3 separate regions of the Homo sapiens genome follow, and all the other regions are linked to region 2. Evidence: promoter capture Hi-C in 16 types of primary human blood cells and fetal thymus (Javierre and others, 2016). All regions are on one chromosome and are shown on one strand. The core of a region is centred on a gene start or on the middle of the fragment in contact, and the rest is flanking DNA. Distances in the headings are between cores, read along the strand shown. Region 1 has its middle 64 kb from the start of CDCA7L. Region 2 holds the start of POLR1F (RNA polymerase I subunit F). Region 3 has its middle 130 kb from the start of CDCA7L.

Region 1 (4,024 bases), core at 872-3,371, 2.3 Mb after region 2:
CAAGCTACCATTCAGCCGGGCTTTGAAAACAGTCTGTAAGACCAAAGAAAGAAAAAAGAACAGTATGAAAGAAAAAGAAAGATGTGTAGCCAGGCCAGACAAAGAGAAAGACTTATTTTCTCCTACAGCTGTTTGACCCCAGGTATTTAACACTATTGTCTTTGCCAACTACAGACCCTCAGGGGTCCTTGCCGAGGGCCCCACTGGAGAGCCAGAATTTGTCCCTGGGACAGGATGAGGAGTCCAGGAGAAGCAGCAGTAGACAGGCTGTGCTGGGAGTCATCAGGGGCCACCAGGATACAAGGGGTGGGGGGAGCCCAGCTGCCTTGCTGACTTGCCTTTCAACCCTGATGTCTGCTCTCTTGGTAGTAAGCCAGAAGTGGGGCGTGGGACGATGTGACAGGAGCACCAACGTCCCCACCAAGCCATCACAGCAACAGGCTTTGTCCAGGATCTTCTGGAAAGGATCCAAAATGAATTGTGCTTCCTAACACTCGTTTCAGGAATAGGTGCCAAAGTCTCTATTTAGTGCATTTCTGTATTGAAAGGAACATTTGTCCAAGGGAATCCACAATTTACAATAAGCATAATCACTGGCTATACTGCACCTGAAAATTCCAAAGAGATGATGATATGTTTCAGAACAGCACCCTCTGTCCCATGGATGGATTGGAATAGGAATCCTTTAGTCTGTTTATGGCTGCACTTTGGAAATTTTAGTGTGACTACTTCCTCAGGGAACTCTGTTATTTACATCTGTTTATTCTCAGAAACTGGTATATTGCCTGGCAGTTATTAGGTAATCAATAAAAAGAAGGAAGTGGGGGAGAGGGAAATAGGGGGAGAGGGAAGGGGGGAAGAAGTGGGGAGGGAATAGTATGTGCTCGTTATAGAGATTTGGAAAACATAGCAAGATACAAAAGTGAAAATAAGAATTACTCGAAAATCCCGCTAAGAAATAACCTTTATTAATGATCTGTTCTCTACTCTTTCAGCCATCTAAACTCACCTCGTTTCATTGTTTACAAAGTTCAAATCACAACGCACATTCAATTTTGTATCTTGTCTTTTAAATTCACATTCTACCACTAGTATTTTCACACATTCAAACTGTTGAAAATCACATCTTTTTTTTTAATGGCTAGATGATTAATCTAGCACATTACATTTTCTTTCTTTCTTTCCTTTTTCTTTTCTTTTCTTTTTTTTTTTTTTTTTTTTTTGAAACTGAGTCTCTTCCTATCGCCCAGGCTGGAGTGCAGTGGCACGATCTCAGCGCACTGCAAACTCCACCTCCTGGGTTCAAGTGATTCTCCTGCCTCAGCGTCCTGAGTAGCTGGAACTACAGGCGTGCACCACCACTCCCAGCTAATTTTTCTATTTTTAGTAGAAATGGGGTTTTGCCATGTTGGCCAGGCTGGTCTCGACTCCTGACCTGGCCTCAGATGATCCACCCGCCTCAGCTTCCCAAAGTTCTGGAATTACAGGCATGAGCCACCACACCCAGACAAGCACATTACATTTTCTAAAAACTACCAAGGTAATTTAGCTCTACAGATTTTTCCTAGGAAACAGAACTTCACCTCTCCTGCAACAATGATGGGGCAATTGTTCCGAAGAAAAATATTGACCAGCTCATCTATATTTCAACTTTAAGTTTCCTGGCACAAATACGACATTTTATAATGAGTTGACAAGGAACTATCAACTTGACACATAGTCACAGTCACTGTCTCTCCAAAGGTGTCAGGGGTATGGAGCAGAGGAGAGTGGATAGTAAGAATGGGAGAGAAGATGGGGCTGCTCTGAAAACCTCGCCCCTTGGAGAAAGGCCAAAGAACCACTCCCATATGGCGCTTGCTCTTTCTCCCACGCTCCAAGGCTTTTTACCTTTGTGATTCCACCCGTCAGGTTTGACTGTGACTCTTCATCGATAACATAACCAAACTGCAGGTTCATTCACTTACCACTTGCAGAGTGCAATTAACAAGAGCAAAGTCTTGTAGAAAGAAAGTGACCTTTTATTCCAAAGCTAGCTTAGGGTAAGCAGCACAGTCTTCTTGCCTTAAGGGTACCGAGTGGCCTCTGGAACAGGAATGCGGGCACTTTTAAAAGGGGGCCTAGCATGAATAACACCCAACGTAGGAAGCAAACAGGTGGGGATATGAGTACCCGCTTTGGTGCCTTATCTACTGGGCAGTCAAGTTAGCACCTGTTTGGGCAGAATTAGGTTGTAAAGGCGGCTGAAACTCTGCAGATAGAAGACTTCGTGGTGGGCAGATTTGGGCTGCGGATTGACTGTTGTCCTTCGAGGCAGTCTCCTGGTGGAAAAAGAGTTCTACTCTGGAGCTTCTAAGCTCATACTTACCTCAACTTGCCTTGTAGGGAGTGTTTGGTGAAGGGGAGGTAAAAGGTTATAATTGCATTTCTAAAGGACTAAGTAGGAGGTGGGGAACAGAAGGAAATGGATAAAAAAGAAAAGAATAGAAAAAGTTTAAAAATATTAACTCATTCTCTTTTTTGAAAAATGGGGGTACTCAGTTACAATAGGAATGAGTGCCTCCTATTCCAATAGGCTGCTCTGGGGCTAGCCTATTCTGGATTCCTCCATGTGCCCCCAGAAGCAACAGGCTGCCTGGCATGATGAGCTCTCAGTTTTAATATCGATTCTGAAAATCAACTGGTGAGCAAATAGGATTCTAATTTAACAGCTTTTTAAAAAGTTATTTTAGGCCAGGAGCCGTGGCTCATACCTGTAATCCCAGCACTTTGGGAGGCCAAGGCGGGCAGATCACGAGGTCAGGAGATCGAGACCATCCCGGCTAACATGGTGAAACCCCCTCTCTACTAAAAATACAAAAAATTAGCCGGGCGCAGTGGCGGGCGCCTGTAGTCCCAGCTACTCGGGAGGCTGAGGCAGGAGAATGGCGTGAACCCGGGAAGCGGAGCTTGCAGTGAGCCGAGATGGAGCCACTGCACTCCAGCCTGGGTGACAGAGTGAGACTCTGTCTCAAGGAAAAAAAAAAAAAGTTATTTTAAAAAATTAAAGCATTTTAAATACGGGAGTCTTTTCCAGTTAATCACTAAATAAAAACATTTGGTTAACAATAAATATATTTTTACAAATTTGGTTAAAAACATTTACAATCTTTTTTGTTAAAAACATGAGAGCTGATCAATGTGATGGTTACAGTGACAGTTAATGACACAATTGAACAACAGGCATCGAGCAAGGTTGCCCAGATTCCTAAGTTATTCCATAGAAAGCTCTAAATTGAAATGGTGGTTATTTATGCTACAGGTTAATAATCAGATGAAATTTTATAGTTGCTGTCTTGAATAATTCCTCCTCTTCCTGTACATATATATTTAGGGATTGAATGAGTATATTTAAAAATCTTTCTAAAGTATATAATATTGACTGTTTCTGAGTCTTGTCCCCTTCCAGCCAGGATGCTGATGTTGAAGGTATGAGAATTGCTGCTTTGTCAACTTGACTCACTCATGGGACTTGACTTGGCCAGTTTCATGTGTTGGATTCAAATGGAATTAGATTTGAGTCCTAACGTTGCCACTTTCTAGCTGTGTTACGTTGGGCAGATTTTTAAACTGCCTGTTCCTTCGTTGGCTTATTTATAGATGCAGAAATAATATCTACTGCATCTGGTTATTGTGAGGATTAATGCTACGCTAATCCTTTAACATGCCTGACATGTAACAAGTGTTGGATAACGGTGGCTGCTGCTGTTTTTCCCTTTCAATCTGTCCCTGTGCATATTTCCCCTTAGCACTTTGGTTTCCATTTTCACCATTTCATTTTCTGCTTGTTTCATTATTACTGCGTTAGCTAGACATTTCCAGTGGGAAAGCTCCCAGCATGATGAATGGAATAGTGTGGCCTGGGAACTTTTTTTTTTTTTTTTTGAGATGGAGTTTTGCTCTTTTTGCCCAGGTTGGAGTACGGTGGCATGATCTCAGCTCACTGCAACCGCTGCCTCCCAGATTCAAGCGATTCTCCTGCCTC
Region 2 (4,059 bases), core at 1,115-3,614:
AGTTTTAATATATATTAAAATTTTCAGGAACTTAGCAGTATATAAATTCAAGGGGGATTTTGTTAAAAGTCATCAGATATGTGAACACAGGCACCCAACACTATATACTTTTTCCTCCTTCACTTTTGTTTTTCAGATACCATCCTAAATAGGTATCAGGGCAAGGTGGTAGCCTCACTTCAGTTCTTTAATACTATATGTTCAATGTTTTGTCCCTTATTAGTAATGCATAGTTCAAAGTGTGGTGCCTGATTTGCACTTGAATAAACAGCATACCCAAGTAATATGGAAGGAGTGGTGTCCAGATCTGTTCAGAGCCACTCTGCGTGATTTCCCCCTCTAGCCTGTCAAGTGCAGGCAGTACTGGTTACAGAAAACAAGATAGTTGCTTGTGTTTCCAAATGTTATGACTACTTTGTATATCCTTTAATTTCTCAAATCCATCCTCTCTAATCATTTTCTCTTGGACAATTATAACATTATCTTAATTCCTCTCCTTGTCCACTTTCTCATCCTATTTGGTAGCTAACCATTAAGTAAATGTTGTTTCTTAAACTGCAAATCTGATATGCCAGGGACTGCAGAGAAGTACTAGTTTCTCAAAAGTGTGCCAAGTCTCAGCGTTAAAGGGACTGAGAGGACGGAGCACTAACCCTGCTTAAGAAAACAGAAACACAAAAGGAAAAACAACAACAACCCCACCTTACCCCCAAAATAACAAAAACTGGCAATGGCAGGAAGGGAAAAGCAAAATGGCCATCCTCTCTGAGTCATCTTTGACCCCCTGCCCTCCTCTCCAATGGCATCCAATGCCTTTCCCCTGACATAAACCTTATTCTACTTATATAATAGATACAGTTCTCTGGGCAAAGCATACCAGTTCACATCCAGTATCCGTTTGTTTATGCCACTCTCTTTGCCTGGAATGTTACCATGTTAAAGTACCCTCTTCAATCAAGTTGTTCTCAAAGGTCCCAAGATCCAAATTCTACACTCCTTATCTTATTAGATTTCTGTCAAATTTTAACACTTTACTATTTATTGGCTTGTATTTGTATCTCTCCTACAGCTTAAAGCTCCTTGAAACAGAGATTTTATTTTTTGTTTTTGTATCTCAAGTGTTCGGTATGTAATATAAACATACAAGAAGTGTATATTGGTGCTTGGAAGAATCTGCAGATTCTAGACATGGGTGGAGGTCCAGGATCCCTTAAGAAACTGATAAAAACTTCCGATGCAGTGCCCAAGGAACTTCACATAGGAATTCCTGAAGGGCAATCATGAATCCCTAGAGAATCCATTCCCTCTAGTTTTAGAACCCCGCTTTTAAACCAAAGTATAGTCCAGAGGAATACTCAAGCACATGCCCGCGCCCCCCGCCCCACACCTCTGTAATTCTAAGTTTTCAAGTCACTTTTGAATACCGTAATATAAATGCATACGTTTTGGTTTTTTCTCTCCCCAAAGCAACAGGCTCACTAGTTCGACTGAATAAATCTTCTTAAAAACAACAAAATCCCGCTAAACTAATGGCATTTTCATAATCCCCAGATCAGGTCCAAGAGAAGAGAAAATGGGGAAATTACCAGAGCGAAATCCAACAACAAAAAAGGTCCTTCATGTTTTACAAATAGAACGGTTGTACTAATGCTTCGTATGCTATCTTCTATGGAATGAGAATCTACTCAAGCACTGCAAACCAGATTTTTATCGTCAAATGAGAAAGCATCATCCGTAAGGGGATAAATGAAACGTTGAATGCCAAACAGAACTGGGCCTACTAGGTCTCCAGATCCCTGGTCTTTTCCTACCCCTACACCAGGGTTCTGGAGCAAGAATCTCCACTCCCTCCGCCCACACCTGAACTTCATCTTTAAGTTTTCTTCTCTATCTATGAAAGGGACCCTGTATAGATCTTTACCAGAGCGGTACTGGCCTTGAGGGACGGATCGCGACTCTAGAAATCCAGGGGGCTAAGCTCTGGGGGGCAATGCGACCTTTGCCATTTGCCCCTTTCTGCTGCGTCGTCAGCACATCCACCTGCTTTACTTCCCGTGCACAAAAGAAGGAACAGGCAAAGAGATCGGTACCTCTCAGAATAGCGAAGGAGCTCCGCATCAAGCTGTTCTCGAATGCCGGTGCGTTTCCTGTTAAGGTAGCGGGGCGACAGCGCGATGTGCCTTTGGTGCGGCCCGGCCACCAGGCATGAGTAGCGACTGTTCACCAGCGCACAAGCAGCGGCATAAGTCGGCAACTCTAGGCAAGGCAGGACGCCAGCCTGCCCTACCAGAGACCCATCAGAAGCCGCCGCTGGCCGCGGCGCCTCTGAGCAACCTGCAGCCATGCTGCTTGTCAAGGTTCCCACGGCGCGCGCCGTTGACGCAAGCACAATCCCATGTCCCCGGCGCTCGTTTTACGCCATCCACCAACGACCACGCCCCTAGGAATTTCCCCTCTTTTCGCTGCATTACGCAGCCCTGACCAGCAGGGGGAACCGCGTTTTCGCGCTTCGAGAACGGGAGCTTAGAGCCTCGGAAATGCATTGAGCACGCAGGAAAGCCAACCGACTGCTCTTTTAAGGGCAGGCAAATGTGTGTTTTCGCACAGAGGCTTATTGGATTAAGTAGGTAGCTTAAAAATGGGGGTTCTCACTTTGATCATTTCCAGTAGTGAGGTGGGTTTGGTAGAATTTTACAGGCTTGGACTGTACAATAAAAAATCAAAATATTTATGGAGTATATTTTATGCAGTACACGGAATCCTAAGCAGGCCTGATAATTGTAATGCAACGCATCTGAAAACGAACCCACTAGTTCTCTCCTGTCCCGCTTCTCTTCTCATTATGCAACTGCTAAATCAGGGAATCATACAGCCAAGCTGTCAGCCTCGGATCCTCTTTTGTATCCCCAAGTATCAAATCAGCCTGAAGACCTGTATTGCCCAAAGTGGAAATATCATTCTATTTGGACACTATTCTCTTTCCCTGCCGCCAAAACCGCAGGACTCCCTGCCTGTGGAAGCCTAGCTCAATGGTCAGGAGGACACTCTGGGGCAGCCAGATCTTCCCTGAAATACATATGATCGTGTTGTGCCCTGTTTAAGCCCTACATAGGCACCCCATTTTCTCTAGGACAACACAAACTCATGAAAATGGCTTATAAGTTACAAGGCCATTTTGTGATCTGCGTGGGCACACAGCCTCTCTCTTCAGCTTCATTTGTCACACTCCCCACCCTAATATTATCATGCTGCTTGATCTACTTTCAGGTCTCTCTTTGTGCAGTCTCACGCTGTTCCTTCCACCAGGGAATATAATAGCATTTTTCACAAGGGTAAATTCTACTCATGTATGAATTTCTAGCTTAGATTTTACATTCTATACCTTTGCAAAGAGTTTTCAAGCACCCCACTCCTCTTTCTCTATAAGGATTAGGTAGTTACCCATCTATGTTGGTTTTTATGTTAATTTTTTATTAACTGTCTTTGCTTGCCTGTTCCATCAATAGATTCCTACACTCACTAAAGTGGGGACCATAATATCTGTATTGTTCACTACAGTAGCCCCCCACAATTTATCCCTCCTCCAAAGAAACGAAACCAAGAAAAACCCAACCAATACATCTTGAATGAATAACCTGATAGTGAGTTAATAAATAATAAGTGATAAAGAGCTCACAGCCTAAGTGGAAGTGGGATCTAAACATAAACATATAACAGGTTATGCTGGATAAGTGCCAAGAGAAATGTATAGCAGTGATGTGAGTATTAACATACTCCCTCATCTCCTAAATACTGCAAAAAGCCTCTTAGCCTCTCTAAACCTGATTTCTGACTTGTAAAATACGAAAAATAATACTTGCCCTGCTACCTTAGAGAGATGATAGGAGGGTCAAACAAGATAAATAAAAGGCATTTTCTTTAATATTCCTTAAATAACTGCAAACTCAGCATGAGATGATAGTGGGATGAGACTGCCCCCAAAACCTAATAGTAGACACTTTTAAGTCCATAAATGGGAAACATAATGGCTTTTACCTTCATTTTGTTGCAAAGTCCTGT
Region 3 (4,011 bases), core at 64-2,563, 2.4 Mb after region 2:
TGATCTAGAAATCTGCTTCCAGGATGCCTCTGATTTGGAAACACTGAAAATATCTATTAAATTTTGTATGTCTATGAGGGTGAATGGTGTACAGGGAAAATGTTGGTGTTAATTTTTGTGAGTTAATCATGAATAAGTTCCAAATTATTCAAAGTTCTAGTAATTTCTAAATCTAATCCAAATGTAAAATCTTTAACTCTGATACTTCAAGATGGTGAGAGGTGAAGCCAGCTGGACTTCTGGGTCGAATGGGGACTTGGAGAACTTTTCTGTCTTACAAGAGGATTATAAAATGCACCAGTCAGCACTCTGTAGCTAGGATTGTAAAACGCACCAATCAGCACTTTGTAGCTAGCTAGAGGTTTGTAAAATGCACCAATCAGTTCTCTGTAAAAATGGACCAATAAGCAGGATGTGGGCGGGGACAAATAAGGGACTAAAAGCTCGCCACCCCAGCCAGCAGGGGTCCCCTTCCACGCTGTGGAAGCTTTGTTCTTTCGCTCTTCACAATAAATCTTGCTGCTGCTCACTCTTTGGGTCCACATCAGCTTTAAGAGCTGTAACACTCACTGCGAAGGTCCGCAGCTTCATTTTTTAAGTCAGCGAGACCAAGAACCCACTGGAAGGAACCAACTCTGGAAGCAATGGAGCTCAATGTAAATAAGTTACAGTAATAGGACAGCTAAGGTGTATAAGATATCAGTATTTTAAGGAGTGATTTATAATGCAACTGTATTATAAGAGATTAATAAACACACCAAGAAAGGAAAGTTTTCACCTTTTAAGAGGAGAAATTTTATTGCACTATGTGACTTTATACTTACCTTATTGTACTGATGCACAGAAATAGAGATTTGGTTGCCAAATATTTTTAATTCTACTGTAAGTTGAATTTTAAATAATAAAAAGTAAAATTAGTAGCCAGGAACAAAACCTAAAATAGGCAGTGGTCTAGCATATGATTGTGACTCTTCTGTTTAATTCTGTAAAATGAAAAAGAAAACCAAATGCTACCTACAACAAAAACACATTTGGAAAAAAACATCATCCTGCCTCAGCCTCCCAAGTAGCTGGGACTACAGGTGCATGCCACTGCACCCAGCTAATTTGTTTTATTTTTAGGATAGCATCTTGCTATGTTGTCCAGGCTGGTCTCAAAAGTCTGGCCTCAAGTTATTCTCCTGCCTCAGCCTCTGCAGTAGCTGGGTTTATAAGTGCAAGCCACACCTATATTTTAAATCTATGTCATACATGAACAGGCACTTTTCAAAAGACACACACGCAGCCAAAAAGCATATGAGAAAAGCTCAATATTACTGGGCATTAGAGAAATGCAAATCAAAACCACAATAAGACAGCATCTCACCCTAGTCAGAATGGCTATGATTAAAAATAAAAAAATAAAAAACAGAAGCTGGTGAGGTTCCAGAGAAAGGGGAACACTTATACACTGTTGGTGGGAGTGTAAATTAGTTCAACCATTGTGGAAAGCAATATGGTGATTCCTCGAAGAGCTAAAAGCAGAACTACCATTTGACCCAGAAATCCCATTACTGGGTATATACCCAGAGGAATATAAATCGTCCTACCACAAAGACACATGCACAGTGTTCACTGCAGCACCATTCACAATAGCAAACACATGGAATCGACCTAATCGCCCAACAATGACAGACTGGATAAAGAAAATGTGGTACATGTATGCCATGGAATACTATGCAGCCATAAAAAAGAATGAGATCATGTCTTTTGCGGGAATACGGATGGAGTTGGTGGCTACCATCCTTAGCAAACTAATGCAGGAACAGAAAACCAAATACCACATGTTCTCACTTATAAGCGGGAGCTGAAGGATGAGAACTCACGAACTCAAGGCAATAACAGACACTGGGGTCTACTTGAGGGAAGAGGGTGGGAGGAGGAAAAGGAGCAGAAAAAAATACCTGTTGGCTTAAGTTATTAATAACTATGGCTTAATACCAGGGTGATGAGATAACCTGTACAACAAACCCCCGTGACAGCAGTTTACCTATATAACGAACCTTCACATTACTCCCAGACCTAAAATAAATGTTAAAAAATAAATAAAGCTATGTCATAGAGGTAAAGTCAACATGTAGAAGTGAAATGTAGCATTGCCAAGCTTTTTTTCCCACAGCTATTTTCCACTGTAAATTCCCTAATAAAAGAACATCCAAGAATCAGAAACCATAACTCATATATTCATTCCCAGATATTTGCCAAATGCCAACACTGAAGATTTAGCAATTTTCACGGCAAAGTCCCTGCCCTCATGGTCTTTATATGGAAGTTTTGGCAAAGGCTCCAAGACAGTAGAAAATACATCCCAAGTGGGAAGGAGTCGTGGAAAAAGGAGAGGAAAGAAAGCCCACTTGCTTGTGTGCCTCTAAAACCCGGAGTACTGATATTGTCTTTATTTATAATTTTGATATTTTGCTTATAATTTTTTTGCATTAATATGGATTTTTTTTAAAAAAACAACATATTAAAACATAATTTATCCTGATTACTGCCTAATATACGTATCCACAGTATAAAATGGTTCTGAGGTTGAGAGTAGGCAGATTTCTTCAGAAGAAGCTGCAACTGTGCTGTGGCTCCTACCTCCTCTACCTCCCACCAGGGAAAGCCCAGACACTTAAAGAAGCTTCAGTAAGATTACTCTAAGGGCTTACTCTGGATGTCCTGTGCTTAGGGGACACAACACACTGGCCCACAGTGATAAATCCAAGGGATGGGCGACTCGGGGGCTGGTCTGCAAACCCAGCCTGGACAAGATTGCATGAATATTTTCTGTGAACCAGAGTGGGGAGGGAACACAGGAGAGGAAGAATTTTTGTAGGGTCACCTTGGGTCCTGTCTGGGAAGATAGCCAGGAGTAACTGGAGTGGTCTTGGCTGGAGGATGACTACATTTCTAGGGGCTGAGGGAGGTAAGGAAGGACTCAGTTCCCCAAGCCTTTCCCCCTGAGAGTTCACACTCCCCGTGAAAGGACTACACAGGGAAGAGTATGTACTCCCGTGACCCAACACTGGCACTTGCTGCATGTGGCAGATCTTTAGTATTACGTTGATGCAAAAGTATTTGCGATTTGCCCATTACTTTTAAAGGCCAAAACAGCAATTACTTTTGCAGCACCATAATACTTTTTTGTTATCGGAGTTCTTGCAGGTAACCACAACCAGCAAGTGCTAGTGTGGGGTCACCACTGAAGGGCAGAACTTTCCAGCTTTGTCACCAGTGCTCCCACCCTGGGCTGCCTTCTGGAAAAGTCAGAAACCTGGGAAAGCAAGAAGGGAAAGGAGGAGGACAGGGCCAAGGACAGAAGGAGAGGAGAAGCTACCGGGACCCCTTCCCTGTCTAAACCCCACCCCCAAGACTCAAGATCAAGGCGAGGAAGATGTGCCTCAATTTAAAGTCAACACTGAAATTTTGACTATAGGACTTGCCTTTCAATTGCAACACGGTCATTGTTTCGTTATTAGAGGTGATTATTTTCATTTTTTAGAAAACCTAAATGTGACCAAAAAGTCCTTATTAGAGGGAAGAACTTAAAAGGACAATGGGTGACAACATTTTTAGATATTGATGAGTGTTATACATAACAATAATATAAGATGGTGGGAATTGTGGAGAGGGAGCGCTTTTCTTGGGTAGTGTGATCAGAAAAGATTATCCGGAAATGACATTTGAGTGGAGGCCTGAATGAGTGGACAGCAGACGCTGCTGAGATGAGGGGGAGTGAGCTATAGGATCAGGAGTGAGAATGGCCACTTTCTGCCCTTCTCAGAGGTAAAATTACGAATGTAATTTCCTAATTACCCGATGAAACATATTTTGAACTAGAACACAGATGTTTGGGAAAACCTCCAGCAAATTGACTTAATCTGATTGATTTTCTGATTTAGTGTTTTTCTAAGCAAGAACTGCACCCGTTGTGACAGAAGAGGCGCTAAAGCTGCAAATTCCTGGGCCTCGACCCACTAGTTC

The links. The method cuts DNA at HindIII sites, captures the fragments that hold promoters and counts their contacts. A CHiCAGO score of 5 or more calls a contact.
Region 1: a contact is called between a fragment that was not itself captured here and the fragment with the promoter of POLR1F in region 2, in 2 of 17 cell types (naive CD8 T cells and total CD4 T cells). The highest score is 6.4, in naive CD8 T cells.
Region 3: a fragment that was not itself captured here is called in contact with the fragment with the promoter of POLR1F in region 2 in 3 of 17 cell types (naive CD8 T cells, total CD8 T cells and activated CD4 T cells); the score reaches 6.5 in naive CD8 T cells.

The regions. Positions count from the first base shown.
Region 1 is chr7:22,007,958-22,011,981 of GRCh38, forward strand. No RefSeq gene overlaps it. Among named protein-coding and RNA genes, the nearest start is that of CDCA7L, 64 kb to the left of the region's middle. The HindIII fragment of the contact is 4,993 bases long and covers 1-4,024 here.
Region 2 is chr7:19,706,673-19,710,731 of GRCh38, forward strand. It overlaps POLR1F (RNA polymerase I subunit F), which reads right to left and starts at 2,365. Exons shown (of 4, transcript NM_001002926.2): 1 at 2,091-2,365. The coding sequence starts at 2,344. RefSeq lists enhancers at 1,489-2,093, 2,058-2,127, 2,094-2,696, 2,238-2,517. The HindIII fragment of the contact is 8,345 bases long and covers 1-4,059 here.
Region 3 is chr7:22,078,717-22,082,727 of GRCh38, forward strand. No RefSeq gene overlaps it. Among named protein-coding and RNA genes, the nearest start is that of CDCA7L, 130 kb to the left of the region's middle. RefSeq lists enhancers at 350-494, 1,511-1,655, 3,015-3,159 and cis regulatory regions at 422, 1,583, 3,087. The HindIII fragment of the contact is 1,656 bases long and covers 486-2,141 here.